3 separate regions of the Homo sapiens genome follow, and all the other regions are linked to region 3. The links are contacts of gene promoters, found by promoter capture Hi-C in blood cells and fetal thymus (Javierre and others, 2016). All regions are on one chromosome and are shown on one strand. The core of a region is centred on a gene start or on the middle of the fragment in contact, and the rest is flanking DNA. Distances in the headings are between cores, read along the strand shown. Region 1 overlaps CHD1 (chromodomain helicase DNA binding protein 1). Region 2 overlaps ARRDC3 (arrestin domain containing 3). Region 3 holds the start of ARSK (arylsulfatase family member K).

Region 1 (4,484 bases), core at 1,774-4,273, 3.4 Mb before region 3:
GGCTCAAACGATTCTCCCACCTCAGCATCCTGAAAGGCGTGCATGCCACCACACTCAGCTAATTTTAAAATTTTTTGTAGAGATGAGGTCTCACCATATTGCCTCAGCTGGTCTTGAACTCATGGGCTCAAGCAGTCCTCCCACCTTGGCCTCCCAAAGTGTTGGGATTACAGGTGTGAGCTGCCACACCCGGCCTCACATTTTCTTATTCATAGTTGGAATGGAATGGTTAGTAGGTAGAAATACCTAGAGGAAACAAAGGAACCAAACTATTCATAAAATAGGAGATAAGACTCGAGAGTAAATCTTCTAGTTGGATATGCAGACAGATCATGTGCTGGTATATTCTGACTACTTACCTGTTCCAATATTTTATATATTTTTCTGCCATATCTAAAGCGAGGAGGAGTAATAAGTCCAATTTGATACTACAGGTGAAAAAAAATTAAACCTTGTGGCCGGGTGCGGTGGCTTACGCCTGTAATCCCAGCACTTTGGGAGGCCGAGCAGGCAGATCACCTGAGGTTGGGAGTTCGAGACCACCTTGACCAACATGGAGAAATCCTGTCTCTACCAAAAATACAAAATGAGCTGGGTGTGGTGGCCTGTAATCCCAGCTGCTCGCGAGGCTGAGGCAGGAGAATTGCTTGAACCCAGGAGGCAGACGGAGGTTGCAGTGAGCCGGAGATTGCGCGATTGCACTCCAGCCTGGGAAACAAGTGAAACTCCGTCTCAAAAAAAAAAAAAAAATTAAACCTTGCGAAATCAAATTTAAGGAATCTTTTACAATGCATACTCATCTTAAATAATTGCAAAGCATATTTCTTTAATTATTCGGAGTTGTTAATTCTGCTATACAGGTTTTGTGTGCTTCTGAAAAGTGTGGTTATCAAGTTATCTAGTTTTTACAACTGCCTTGGAGTTTATCAGGAGAGAGACCTTCTTTTTTGCCTTCATTTTCTTTCTTACCGCTGCTATACTATGCTCTACTGTCATTAACACTCAATTCCCACTCCCTTCCCCAGAAGCTTTTGTCATAAGACATTACAAAGAAGGGAGATTGTGCCTAGTTAAAAGACTGAGGAGGTGAACTTTAGAGGTAGAGGGATTTTCTTGCAAAAAAAACTAAAGTTTCTATAACTATGAATATTAATATAGAGTAATTTTTTTTCTTTTTTTTGAGCCAGAGTCTTGCTCTGTCGCCCAGGCTGCAGTGCAGCGGTATGACCTCGGCTCACTGCATCCTCCGCCTACCGAGTTCAAGCAATTTTCCTGCCTCAGCCTCCCGAGTAGCTGGGACTACAGGCATGCACCACTGCATCCAGCTAATTTTTGTATTTTTAGCAGAGACGGTGTTTCGTCATGTTGGCCAGGCTGGTCTCGAACTCCTGACCTCAGGTGATCTGCCCGCCTTGGCCTCCCAAAGCACTGGGGATTACAGGCATGAGCCACCGTGCCTGGCCCCTAATATAATTAGATTAGAAATATACTTTGTTTCTAAAGTTGATATTCATTGTAAGTAGCTTTTTAAAGTAAATTTTGGTTTTTTAGTGGCTAGAATTCTATAATGTATTTTTGCTTCAAAATTTCCTTTTTCTTTTGTGAAAGTTTATTAAACGGAATAGAATTAAGAAAGAATTCATTTGGCATTTGCAGGTTACAGTTAGCTTTCTACTGAAAAAAAAAATTTTTAACTATTCTTTCTGTCTGGAGATCTCTCTATAACTATTCACTGAAAGGAAGAAGAATACACAGGAAAAATATGTCTCTTTTGCTATGCTATTGCTGACAGTCTTGAAATTTAGTTACTAAGAAATGTGGGCCAGGATGCACCTGTATAACAGTTACAGCTCAACACAAAGTTTTATGTAACTGAAGTTAAGCTTTTTAAAGATAATGCTGGAAGATTTCAAAGCATCAATTTGCAGCTGTGTGGATTTGTGGTGGTATTTGCAAGCAAATTTTTCAAATCCTGGTAGACTTTTTTTTAGTGTGTGTGTGGTTTGTTTTTTTTTAATTGAGATGGAGTCTCACTGTTGCCCAGGCTGGAGTGCAGTAGCACGATCTTGGCTCACTGCAGCCTCCGTCTCCTGTGTTCTGGCAGTTTTCTGCCTCTGCCTCCTGAGTAGCTGGGATTATAGGTGCCCGCCACCATGCCCCGCTAATTTTTGTATTTTTAGTAAAGATGGGATTTCACCATGTTGGCCAGGCTGGTGGTCTTGAACTCCTGACCTTGTGATCCACCCACCTCGGCCTCCCAAAGTGCTGGGATTACAGGCATGAGCCACTGCGCCTGGCTGACTTTTTTTAGTTTTAAATAAGTTATCTTGAGTGATGATTTACTTCAGGAATGGCTATATGGTTAAAGATCAGAATGGTGTATGAGTTACCTTTCAAAGATTACTTTTCTGTATGTAGTCATAATGTGTGGGCAAACATTAATGTGATGTTACCCCTTTTACTCTGCTTAAGTAGCTGCTTGTTTAAGATCTTGATGACTGATTGGTTATATATGGTGCAGTTTTGTGTTTTAAAATGAGTATTACTTTATGATGAATGGAGAAAATGTTTAACCTTTTTTTAAAATGGGAAATATTTAAAACTACAGAAATAGAAAAGTTGCACCAGTTGTGGTCCGTGGACCAGCGGTGTTGGCATCATTTGGGAGCTTATTATAACTGTAGAACCTTGTGCCTCGCCCCAGACGTACTGAATCAGAATCTTCATTTTAACAAGATTCTAAGTGATTCTTATGTATTAAGTTCATATACATTTATATGAAGCTATTCATCTGGAGTCATAGCATCTTGCCACTTTGTTATTGATGTTGTTATACATGGTTTTCATTCTCTGCGAACCTCCAATTAATTGTGTCTTGAGCAGGACTAGCAAGAGGCTAGGTAAGTTTCGTTTCTCCGGAAGCAGTAACAATGGCAACTGATGATTGTTGAGCTCTTGCTGTGCCTTAACCTAGCATGATGCACATAGGGCATTGTGCATTACTTGAATTGTCACAGTTCATCCTCACAAAACTTCTGTGATGTATACATTGTTATGATTCCCACTTTCCAGATGGGGAAACAAGATTTATAGCCATTTTATTTATTTTTTTATTCTTTTTTAAAAAACTATTACCTAAACTCTATACTTGGATTTCATTGATTTTTCCATTAACTCCCTCTTTTCTGTTGTAGGATTAAATCCAGAGTGCCACATTGCATTTAGTTGTCACGTCTCCCCAGTCTCCTTTCATCTGTGAGAGTTTCTAAGTCTTTCCTTAGTTTTCATGGTCTAAACCATCTTGAGAAATACTGGCCAGGTATCCTGTAGAATGTTTTTGAAATCTAGATTTGTCTTTTTTTTTTTTTTTTTGAGACGGCGTCTTGCTCTGTTGCCCAGGCTGGAGTGCAATGGCACGATCTCACCTCACTGCAACCTCCGCCTCCTGGGTTCAAACGATTCTCCTGCCACAGCCTCCCGAGTGACTGGGACTACAGGTGTGCACCACCATGCCTGGCTAATTTTTGTATTTTTAGTAGAGACAGGGTTTCTCTGTGTTGGTCAGGCTGATCTTGAACTCTTGACCTCAGGTAATCCACCCACCTTGGCCTCCCAGAGTGTTGGGATTACAGGTGTGTGAGCCACCACACCTGGCCTTGTCTATTGTTCTTAGGATAAACTAGGGTTATTGGTTTTTAGAAAGAATACCACAAAGATAAAGTGTGCTAGTCACATCATATGGGAAACATGTTATCCTCATGACATTACTGGTGGTGTTAACCTCTCACTTGGTCAAGGTAGTATTTGCAAGTTTCTCTACTGTAAAGTTACTGTTTTTCCCTTTCCATAATATATTCTTTGGAAGCAAGTCATTTTGTCTAGCCTACTTTCAAGAGGGTTGGGATAGGAATTAAATTCCATCTCCTGGTGGGGGGAGTATTTACATATATTAAATGGAATTTCTGTAAGGAAATTTCTAAATCGTTTATATATGTATGGATTTATGTATGTGCTTTGAGTTGTAATCCAGCTTAGTGGATTACAACTCTATAAAATATATATTTGTATATATTTATGTATAATAGGTATTTTATGTATCTATTGTATAATAGTTGACTTTTTTGTTACTTAAATTGATCTAGCCTTGGCTCTTGGAAGCTTTTTTAGGTTGGCTCGTATGTTTCTTTTACACACTGCCTTACTTTTACCCTAGAATCAGCCACTCTCCAAGGAGCCTTGGTTCCATTTTTTTGGAGAATGGCATTAGAAACCAAGATTTGGGTACTGGGTGTGCTTGTTGATATTCAAGTGTCACTGCTTTTATTTCCTCTCAGTGAACAAAGTAGACAGAGCTAGGTAATATATGTAGATATATTATGTATACCTACGTATCTATAGTCATTTCTGTATCCTTACGTCTGTATACATATTATCTCATACATAAACGTGAGTTCATACCGATGGCTCCAACTCTAATCCTGTGC
Region 2 (3,959 bases), core at 132-2,631, 4.2 Mb after region 3:
GAGAGAGAAGTCATAAATGGTATTTTTTAGAAAATTCTATTTACTGTATTATTTGAGAATTTTATTTGGAATATAATGCCCTCATCTAATTTCTGAGAAAAATATTAAAGTCTGTTGATAGAATAAGGCCAATATGGGGCCTGAGTATTTTCAGCGTCATTTAATGTTAAAGTTCTATCCATAAACCAAAGTCATTTAACATAAATTTTGGATAACTATTAGCATACAGTTTAAGATTTTATTTCTCTGCTATACAAGTTAATGTGGGAGTCTAAAATGCAAAAAAAAAAAAAAATTATGAAAACACCAGTGTTTCTTATGCTAATCTAAGCTAGCACTCTTGTAAATAACTGAACATTGAGTATTTTACTAATGAAATTATGAAAAAGATACTGAACTTGCTAAAATAAAACCTTCCACAAGTAAAATCTGACAGAGTTAAAAAAAATTTTTTTTTATTCTCTTGACATAGATCAAGAGGACTATATCTTTTTCTTTTGAAGCCCGTAAAGTTAGAGAACAGCCAAACAAGAATTAGAACATGAGTAAACTGAGAGATACAAAAGTAGTTTTTCAGTAAACTTAGGAAATGTGAAATTTTTGAAACTATAATGACTATTCCAGGCCTTTTCTAGACCTTAGTTAGTTGCTATTAAAAGATGATAATTCCCGGCTAATGAGAAGTGGAGTACTATAGGGAATTTGGTCTGAATGTTTAACCAGTGTCTAGAATTTATCAGTAGAAATAGTTAAACCATTCTCAACTTTGTGTTTGAATTCTTGGCCTTTTCAAAAAATGCCCATTAAACTTTCATGATTTTGCCACCATCATTAAAAGTAGCCTCCTCTTAGTTTAAATGGATTGTATTCTTCTGGCTTTTTAAAGCAAAATTTTAAAGATATTTATTGTTTATTCTTAGTTGGAAATAGGAAGTTTTTTCCCCAGTGACTTATCCCTTTGGAAATTTTTTAAATTATATGTTTGATACCTCATTGGAACATAAACAATACAATATATTAACACTTCTATTCTGACCTACTGTGTAATTGTTAGAAAGAGGTATAAAATTAATATATTGACCTTTATATTCTGCACAGACCACTCGCTACCTCATTCGAAGGCCGACATGGCAGTGTGCGCTATTGGGTGAAAGCCGAATTGCACAGGCCTTGGCTACTACCAGTAAAATTAAAGAAGGAATTTACAGTCTTTGAGCATATAGATATCAACACTCCTTCATTACTGGTAAGAATTGACTGAATTATTTATTCTTTGTTTTTGGCATATAAATATTAAAGAATAATCAATCACCTAAACTATGCAGTTGTCATAATTTAAAAATACTGGTTTTCTTTTAAAATTTCATAAATATACATTTTCTTAAATACAGTCAAGAACACTGAAATTAATGAAAAATATGCTCATATTTTTGACATTGTAGTATACCTTTAAGTAAATATAAAACTAAGACCAGTATATGATATGAAGTATCTCTTACTCAGAGTATGACAGCCATAACAAAAAACAGATCTGGTCCTTGGATGATTTGAGTGGAAGAAGAGCAGTAGTATCTTTTATTATAATACAATATCACTTACTTGACAATATCATAATCTAAAATTTGTACTATACTTTGTTATTCCAATAGAGGGATAGTTGTCAAATAATGGGGAATCATTAGTTTCATTAAAAAACTCCTTTTTTAAAGAAATCTATTTTTAATTGCATTTGTCTGAAAATAATTCAAATTTGACTTAAAACTTTATTTGATTTAAACAAATGGTAACATCTTTAAAGCACATAAGAAATGGGCATTTTCCTTTTTTACATATTGATTTTTTAATAGTCTCAGAGAAAGATGTTAACATTTGGAATTATAATCAGATTGCTTTCTTTGCTGCCTTTTTAAGGCAGTTTAAATGGAATGTGGAAAGGGTTTTTTTTATTTGGTTGGTTTTTGATTACTATATTTGTAAATAGTGTGAGCTAAAAAACTATGTTTATGGGATAGGCTGTAAACCCTTTACCTTTTTTTTCTAATTGAATGGAAATTTATATGAAAATAAAAGTAATGGTATAATTCAAAACCATCGGTTAGTTAAAAAATAAGAAGTATGTCTGGATACAAAAAAAAAGCAAAACCAGTTGTAATTTTTAATTTTCCATAAATTTAGGGTTATATTTTAAAATATTCTGGTATTGATTGTACCAATCCATACACTGACCTTTTTCTCTTAATTTTTTTCTTACAGTCACCCCAAGCAGGCACAAAAGAAAAGACACTCTGTTGCTGGTTCTGTACCTCAGGCCCAATATCCTTAAGTGCCAAAATTGAAAGGAAGGGCTATACCCCAGGTATGTAAGAGGTAGATTCCCACAAAAAACTTTTCTTCACTTAGCTTTTGTGTTTAAATTTATAATATGACTACTAAATATAAACATAATATAGTATTCTTTTGTGAAATAACAAATTGTGCTTATCCATTTGTTTTTTTCACAAAGTAGAATGTAGTTTCCTTTTTCAAATAGCTACTGATTAGTTCATTTCTATGACTCAAGTTATTTGCAGTTCCTGGGACATCTTTTCATGTATGTTAGTTGCACTTTCTTACTTTAGCTTTAAGAATCTTGACTTCTTTTGTTGTTTTTTTCTAACAGTAGATATGTATATATTTTTCCCTCTCTAGGTGAATCAATTCAGATATTTGCTGAGATTGAGAACTGCTCTTCCCGAATGGTGGTGCCAAAGGCAGCCATTTACCAAACACAGGCCTTCTATGCCAAAGGGAAAATGAAGGAAGTAAAACAGCTTGTGGCTAACTTGCGTGGGGAATCCTTATCATCTGGAAAGACAGAGACGTGGAATGGCAAGTTGCTGAAAATTCCACCAGTTTCTCCCTCTATCCTCGACTGTAGTATAATCCGCGTGGAATATTCACTAATGGTATGTACACATTTAAGAGGTTTTTTCCTTTCTTTTTTCTTTTTTGAAACACCTGTCACCCAGGCTGGAATGCAGTGGCACAGTCTCAGCTCCGCTACAGCCTCTGCTTTCTGGGCTCCAGTGATCCTCCCACCTCAGCTCCCAAGTAGTTGGGACTACAGGTGTGCCTATAGCCATGCCTGGATAATTTTTGTATTTTTTGTAGTGATGGAGTTTGACCATGTCGCCCAGGTTGGTCTTGAACTCCTGGGCTCAAGTGATCCATCCACCATGGCCTCCCAAAATGTTGGAATTATAGGCATGAGCCACAGTGCCTGGCCCAAGAGGTTTTTGGTGTTTTTTTTTGTTTTGTTTTTAAGTCTTAAAGTTATGACATAGTTTTGTCTTACATCCAGGATTTGATTTTTTTAAATTCCATATATAGTGACATATAAAATACATAACTCTTTATATAGTTTGACTTACAATTATACCTTATATGTAAATGTACTATACAGAATTATACATAAAAGAGAAACTTTTCATGTATGTAAGTTTAAAAATGAAGTAAATGGGGGTTTCAAATAACATTAAAATTGGTTATGAGTTTTTGAAAAGGAAATCATACTTGGCATTCTAAACTTAATATTTCTTTGCAATGTTTAGGTATATGTGGATATTCCTGGAGCTATGGATTTATTTCTTAATTTGCCACTTGTCATCGGTACCATTCCTCTACATCCATTTGGTAGCAGAACCTCAAGTGTAAGCAGTCAGTGTAGCATGAATATGAACTGGCTCAGTTTATCACTTCCTGAAAGACCTGAAGGTAATTTGATAATACACGTCTAAGCTTAATCTCTTACTACTATTATCAAGAAAATTATTTTGCCTCTGATATTTTATGACCCTAGATGAACATAATCTTTTCCTAAAGAAAGTAGATGTGCCCCTAATATTCAGTTTTGATTATATGTCTTCATAGTTTTGATCACCAAACAATAATTATTTTACCTTGACGTTGCTTTTTAATAC
Region 3 (4,284 bases), core at 740-3,239:
TAACAAGTATGTGAATGCAAAAATTTTTTTTATTTTTTATTTTTTAAAAATTTTTTTATTTTTATTTTTATTTTTTTTTCGAGACGGACTCTCGCTCCGTCGCCCAGGCTGGAGTGCAGTGGTGCGATATCAGGTCACTGCAAGCTCCGCCTCCCAGGTTCACGCCATTCTCCTGCTTCAGCCTCCCGAGTAGCTGGGACTACAGGCGCCCGAAACCACGCCCGGCTAATTTTTTTGTATTTTTAGTAGAGACGGGGTTTCACTGTGTTAGCCAGGATGGTCTTGATCTCTTGACCTCGTGATCCGCCCACCTCGGCCTCCCAAAGTGCTGGGATTACAGGCGTGAGCCACCGCGCCCGGCCGTGAATGCAAAAAATTTAAGCACAAATATAGAAAAATCTATGCATTCATACTACACTAAAAAAAATAACAAACCTATATATCTCAGTCATCTTTGGAAGTTTCTGGGATGTTGTGATCCACATTCGGATTCCCTTTTAGGAATGAACAATTGCCTCTGCTGAAGACAGCTGCTTTGCCCAACACCATGCCCCATTCTAGGAGCAGCCCACAACCAGTGGCCATCCAACATGCAGGTGGAAAGGTCTGTTCTCCTCACTCCTATTGGAAAGCAGCTCTGAAGCACCATACTAGTTTGAGAACTGTCATTCATAAGATGGCAACAAAATTCAGCTTCTCCTCTGCACAATCCTGCTTCCTTCATTTGCCTTTGATTACAAGAGCACTCTGTAATAAAATGCCATCTAGTCAATTTCCAGTACTGCCCATTCTCTAAGTTTAAATCACAAAGATAACTTTAAGTAATATTTTCAAAAAATCCCATGGGCACATCCAGACTATGTAATTTTAATCATCAGGAATCTACGAGAAAGGAAATACAACATATGATTACAAACACTCTTTAGTGCCAGATATGCTTAACACCAACATCTGTGTGACCACAGTAACACCGAGTGATAATAAACTAATATTACAATTAATAACCAAACAATTGTCTAAGCAGCACTTTTTAAAACATGGATCATCCTAAAAGCATCGCGTAAGGTTGACAGTAGCACCTTTGGCTTGGGAAAGTTTCAAAAACTGTTTAAGTTTGGGATTCAGCCACATTACCAACACACACACATACACACAATTTCTCTGGAATACGGGGGAGTGAATCAAGTTATACCAACGATTCCATTTGAATCAGCACTAACAGGATTATCACAGACCTGGGTAATAAAAATAAACTTTCTTCACTTCTCACCCAAACATGAATTCCTGCAAACTTGAGGTGAACTGGAAAATGACTTTTGGAAAGCTAACACGCTTTTATGGAGATGCAGAATGTTATTTTACCACACAATTAAACCAAACGGGGGTATGGACTGAAAGTTCATTAGTCGTGGTAAAATAATTTAGCGAATCGAGGTCAGTATTAAAAAAAAAAGATCTGCAAAGATGTTTTCAGTGTTTCACTATTGTTTTACATGTTTGCATAGGTATGTGGTGTACGTGTGAGTACACGGGGCCTCACATAAAATGTATTTCTTTCTTTGCATCGGGGTAAAAGGTGTTTGAAAATGTCTCAGGTTCTGCTCCCCAAAGCCTGCAGCACAGGCGGCGGCGGTGAGGTCGCCGATCCCCAGCGGGGCGCCCCTCCCCTGCCTCGCGGTACTTACGAAGGAGTCGCTCACGACCAGCACCACATTGGGCGCTTTGGCTGCTCTCCGCCTCTGCTCCCCTGCTCCGGGGGCCAGTACCGCCAGCGCCAAGGCTGCGACCACCGACACCCACAGCAGTAGCATCGCCGGTAGCGGTTCTGAGAGCCTGCCGCCGGGCCAGCCGCCTCCCTCTGGCGTTCTCTCCCTAGCAGAGCAGGGCAGGGACAGCGAACAACTCCCAAAGCTTGCAGTTTGGTTGCTTGATAGTAACGCCGAGCTTCACCCGCAGAACTACAACTCCTATCAGGCGGAGAGCGCGCACATGCGCAACAGAGAAATTCCCGCTTTTACCCACGTTAAGACCTTTTAATCAAATACCGAGCAAATCAGAACCCAGCCACTTCCAGTCACGTGAATGAGTCCTGGGAAAGGCGCATGCGCTCTCATTGCAGCCTCGGCGTTTGTAGAAGAGGAGCATCTGCTCCAGGTGGGTTTGGATTTCTGTCGGTTTTGCACAAGGGATCCTAAAGGCGATTGAAATGGTACTTAGAGAAAGAAAGGATCGGGGCCGGGGCTGTTCATTTTGGGCCGCGCAAGCGTGGCTGAGTGTTCGGCGAGAGCGTGAACTGGGCGGCGATGAGGTGGCGGCGCGGCTGTCACTTAAGTTGAATAGGGCGGTGCCTTGTGGGGCCTCTGGGTGGACCGCCTCAGGTGCGCCGTGAATGCCTTAGACCCCCCCGAATACCTTCCCAGGGAAATCTCTAGCCTGTCTCATCTTATTGCTTCTCTTACCCCGTGCAGTCAGGATTTACTGTGCTCCCATGGGGCGAGGAGCGGGGCCTAGTAAGAAGTTTCAGGCTGTAGGCAGGGGAAAGCATAGCTGTTCCTTGCCTTCAGAGAGCAAAGGAGATAAGCGAAACTGGAGGGGGAAATGGGCTGTGTGACATGTTCAGTTAGTTGACGTAGGTTCAGAATATCATTGTTTTGCTGCAGAATAAAAACCGGTCTCTTTTGACTGTTGAATTCCTTTGGAGAGTTCTGGAAGAAGCAGATTTCTGTCCCAAAGCCAAATTCCAATTTCTGTATCTAGTTTCGGGTATATAATTTGCACATCACACTAGTAGTTTTAATATTCTGACAGTTAAAAGAGGAGTTATACTACTTACTTAAGTCAACTGAATACTAATATCTGGCAGGTTTTTTTTTGCCTAAGATAATTGTAGTAAGGAACAGATTTGTTTATTTAATACTCACATGGCACTTAGGTGCTGAGCGTTATACTAAGCATTTACTGAGCATCTGCTGCGTGCCACGTACTTTTATATGGAATATTTTCTATAATCCTCACTTTCACCATATTGCAGATAGGAAAACAGGCTTAGAGAGGTTAAATGACTGGCCTGAGTTTACACAGGGAGCCAGTCAGAGCACGACTGAAAATTGAAGAGTCTGTGCCGTAACTCACTAAATGCTCTGTCTGCAGTTAGTTTATCTGTTAGTGTAGCAGAATTGTTACTCAAGCAGCATGATAAAGATCTGCGGGAGCATGCAAAAACGTAAACAGTGTTGGGCGCGGTGGCTCACGCCTGTAATCCCAGCACTTTGGGAAGCCGAGACGGGCGGATCACCGAAGGTTAGGGGTTCGAGACCAGCCTGGCCAGCATGGTGAAACCCCGTCTCTACGAAAAATACGCAAAATACTGGGCGTGGTGGCGGGCGCCTGTAATCCCAGCTACTAGGGAGGCTGAGGCAGGAGAATCACTTGAACCCAGGAGGTGGAGGTTGCAGTGAGCTGAGATCGCACCTTTGCACTCCGCCTGGGCAACAAGAGCAAAACTCCATCTCAAAAAAAAAACAAAAACAAAAAAACCCCTAAACAATAGTCTCAGTTTACATGAGTTTAGATTTCAGGGAAGCAAAACCAAGCATACATGAAATAATAATACAGCACGGAAGGTAATACAAGTGGGCTCTCTCATAAAAACAAATTTGTTTTGAGTTAATTTGGAATGTAGAACGTATTTTCTACCATAGTGACAATATTGACTGACATTTAAATTCATAAAAGTTATATTTAATTTTGTGTCTGATTCCATAAACTGTGCTTACTCTCTACAGCCTTGTTTCCACAGGACATGTACTCTGATGACAGGCTTACAAGAATACATCTTTTTCTTCTTTCTCCCCTTGGCAGTGTCAATAGGAGCAGGTGCTGCAGTGATTTGGAGCAAGACAGATATTTTAGAGCCTTAGAGACGTTGTGCTGGAAGAATCTAAGAGGCTTCTAGTCCTACTTCCCATCTGACATTCAGTTTATCCTAAAACATTCCTGCTGAGTGGATTGTCCAGCCTGTGCTTTTTCATCTCCAGTGATGGGAAACACTTCCATTGAGTACCTCATTCCACATTTATATAGGTCTCATTAAAAGTTCCTATTTTAAGTTGAAGTTAATCTTCCTCTATTTTTAACCATTCATTAGTGCATTTTTCTTCACTTTTACATGGATAATCTCTCCCTTTCAACAGTCCTTCCCCCAACTCCCTCGCCACCATTTATTTATTTTTCCTAGTCCCCAGTTTCTTCAGCTAGTTCTCATAATTTCAGGTTTCCTCATTG

The links. The method cuts DNA at HindIII sites, captures the fragments that hold promoters and counts their contacts. A CHiCAGO score of 5 or more calls a contact.
Region 1: a contact is called between a fragment that was not itself captured here and the fragment with the promoter of ARSK in region 3, in 1 of 17 cell types (fetal thymus). The highest score is 5.6, in fetal thymus.
Region 2: a contact is called between a fragment that was not itself captured here and the fragment with the promoter of ARSK in region 3, in 1 of 17 cell types (fetal thymus). The highest score is 6.2, in fetal thymus.

What each region holds. Positions count from the first base shown.
Region 1 is chr5:98,919,685-98,924,168 of GRCh38, reverse strand. The region is part of intron 2 of CHD1 (chromodomain helicase DNA binding protein 1); the gene reads left to right. Among named protein-coding and RNA genes, the nearest start is that of CHD1-DT, 6.6 kb to the left of the region's middle. The HindIII fragment of the contact is 2,275 bases long and covers 1,886-4,160 here.
Region 2 is chr5:91,373,908-91,377,866 of GRCh38, reverse strand. It overlaps ARRDC3 (arrestin domain containing 3), which reads left to right. Exons shown (of 8, transcript NM_020801.4): 3 at 1,099-1,246; 4 at 2,254-2,356; 5 at 2,689-2,945; 6 at 3,591-3,753. Among named protein-coding and RNA genes, the nearest start is that of ARRDC3-AS1, 4.5 kb to the left of the region's middle. The HindIII fragment of the contact is 4,797 bases long and covers 1-3,779 here.
Region 3 is chr5:95,552,806-95,557,089 of GRCh38, reverse strand. It overlaps ARSK (arylsulfatase family member K), which reads right to left and starts at 1,989. Exons shown (of 8, transcript NM_198150.3): 1 at 1,686-1,989. The coding sequence starts at 1,811. It overlaps SKIC3 (SKI3 subunit of superkiller complex), which reads left to right and starts at 2,113. Exons shown (of 43, transcript NM_014639.4): 1 at 2,113-2,154. The HindIII fragment of the contact is 6,579 bases long and covers 1,914-4,284 here.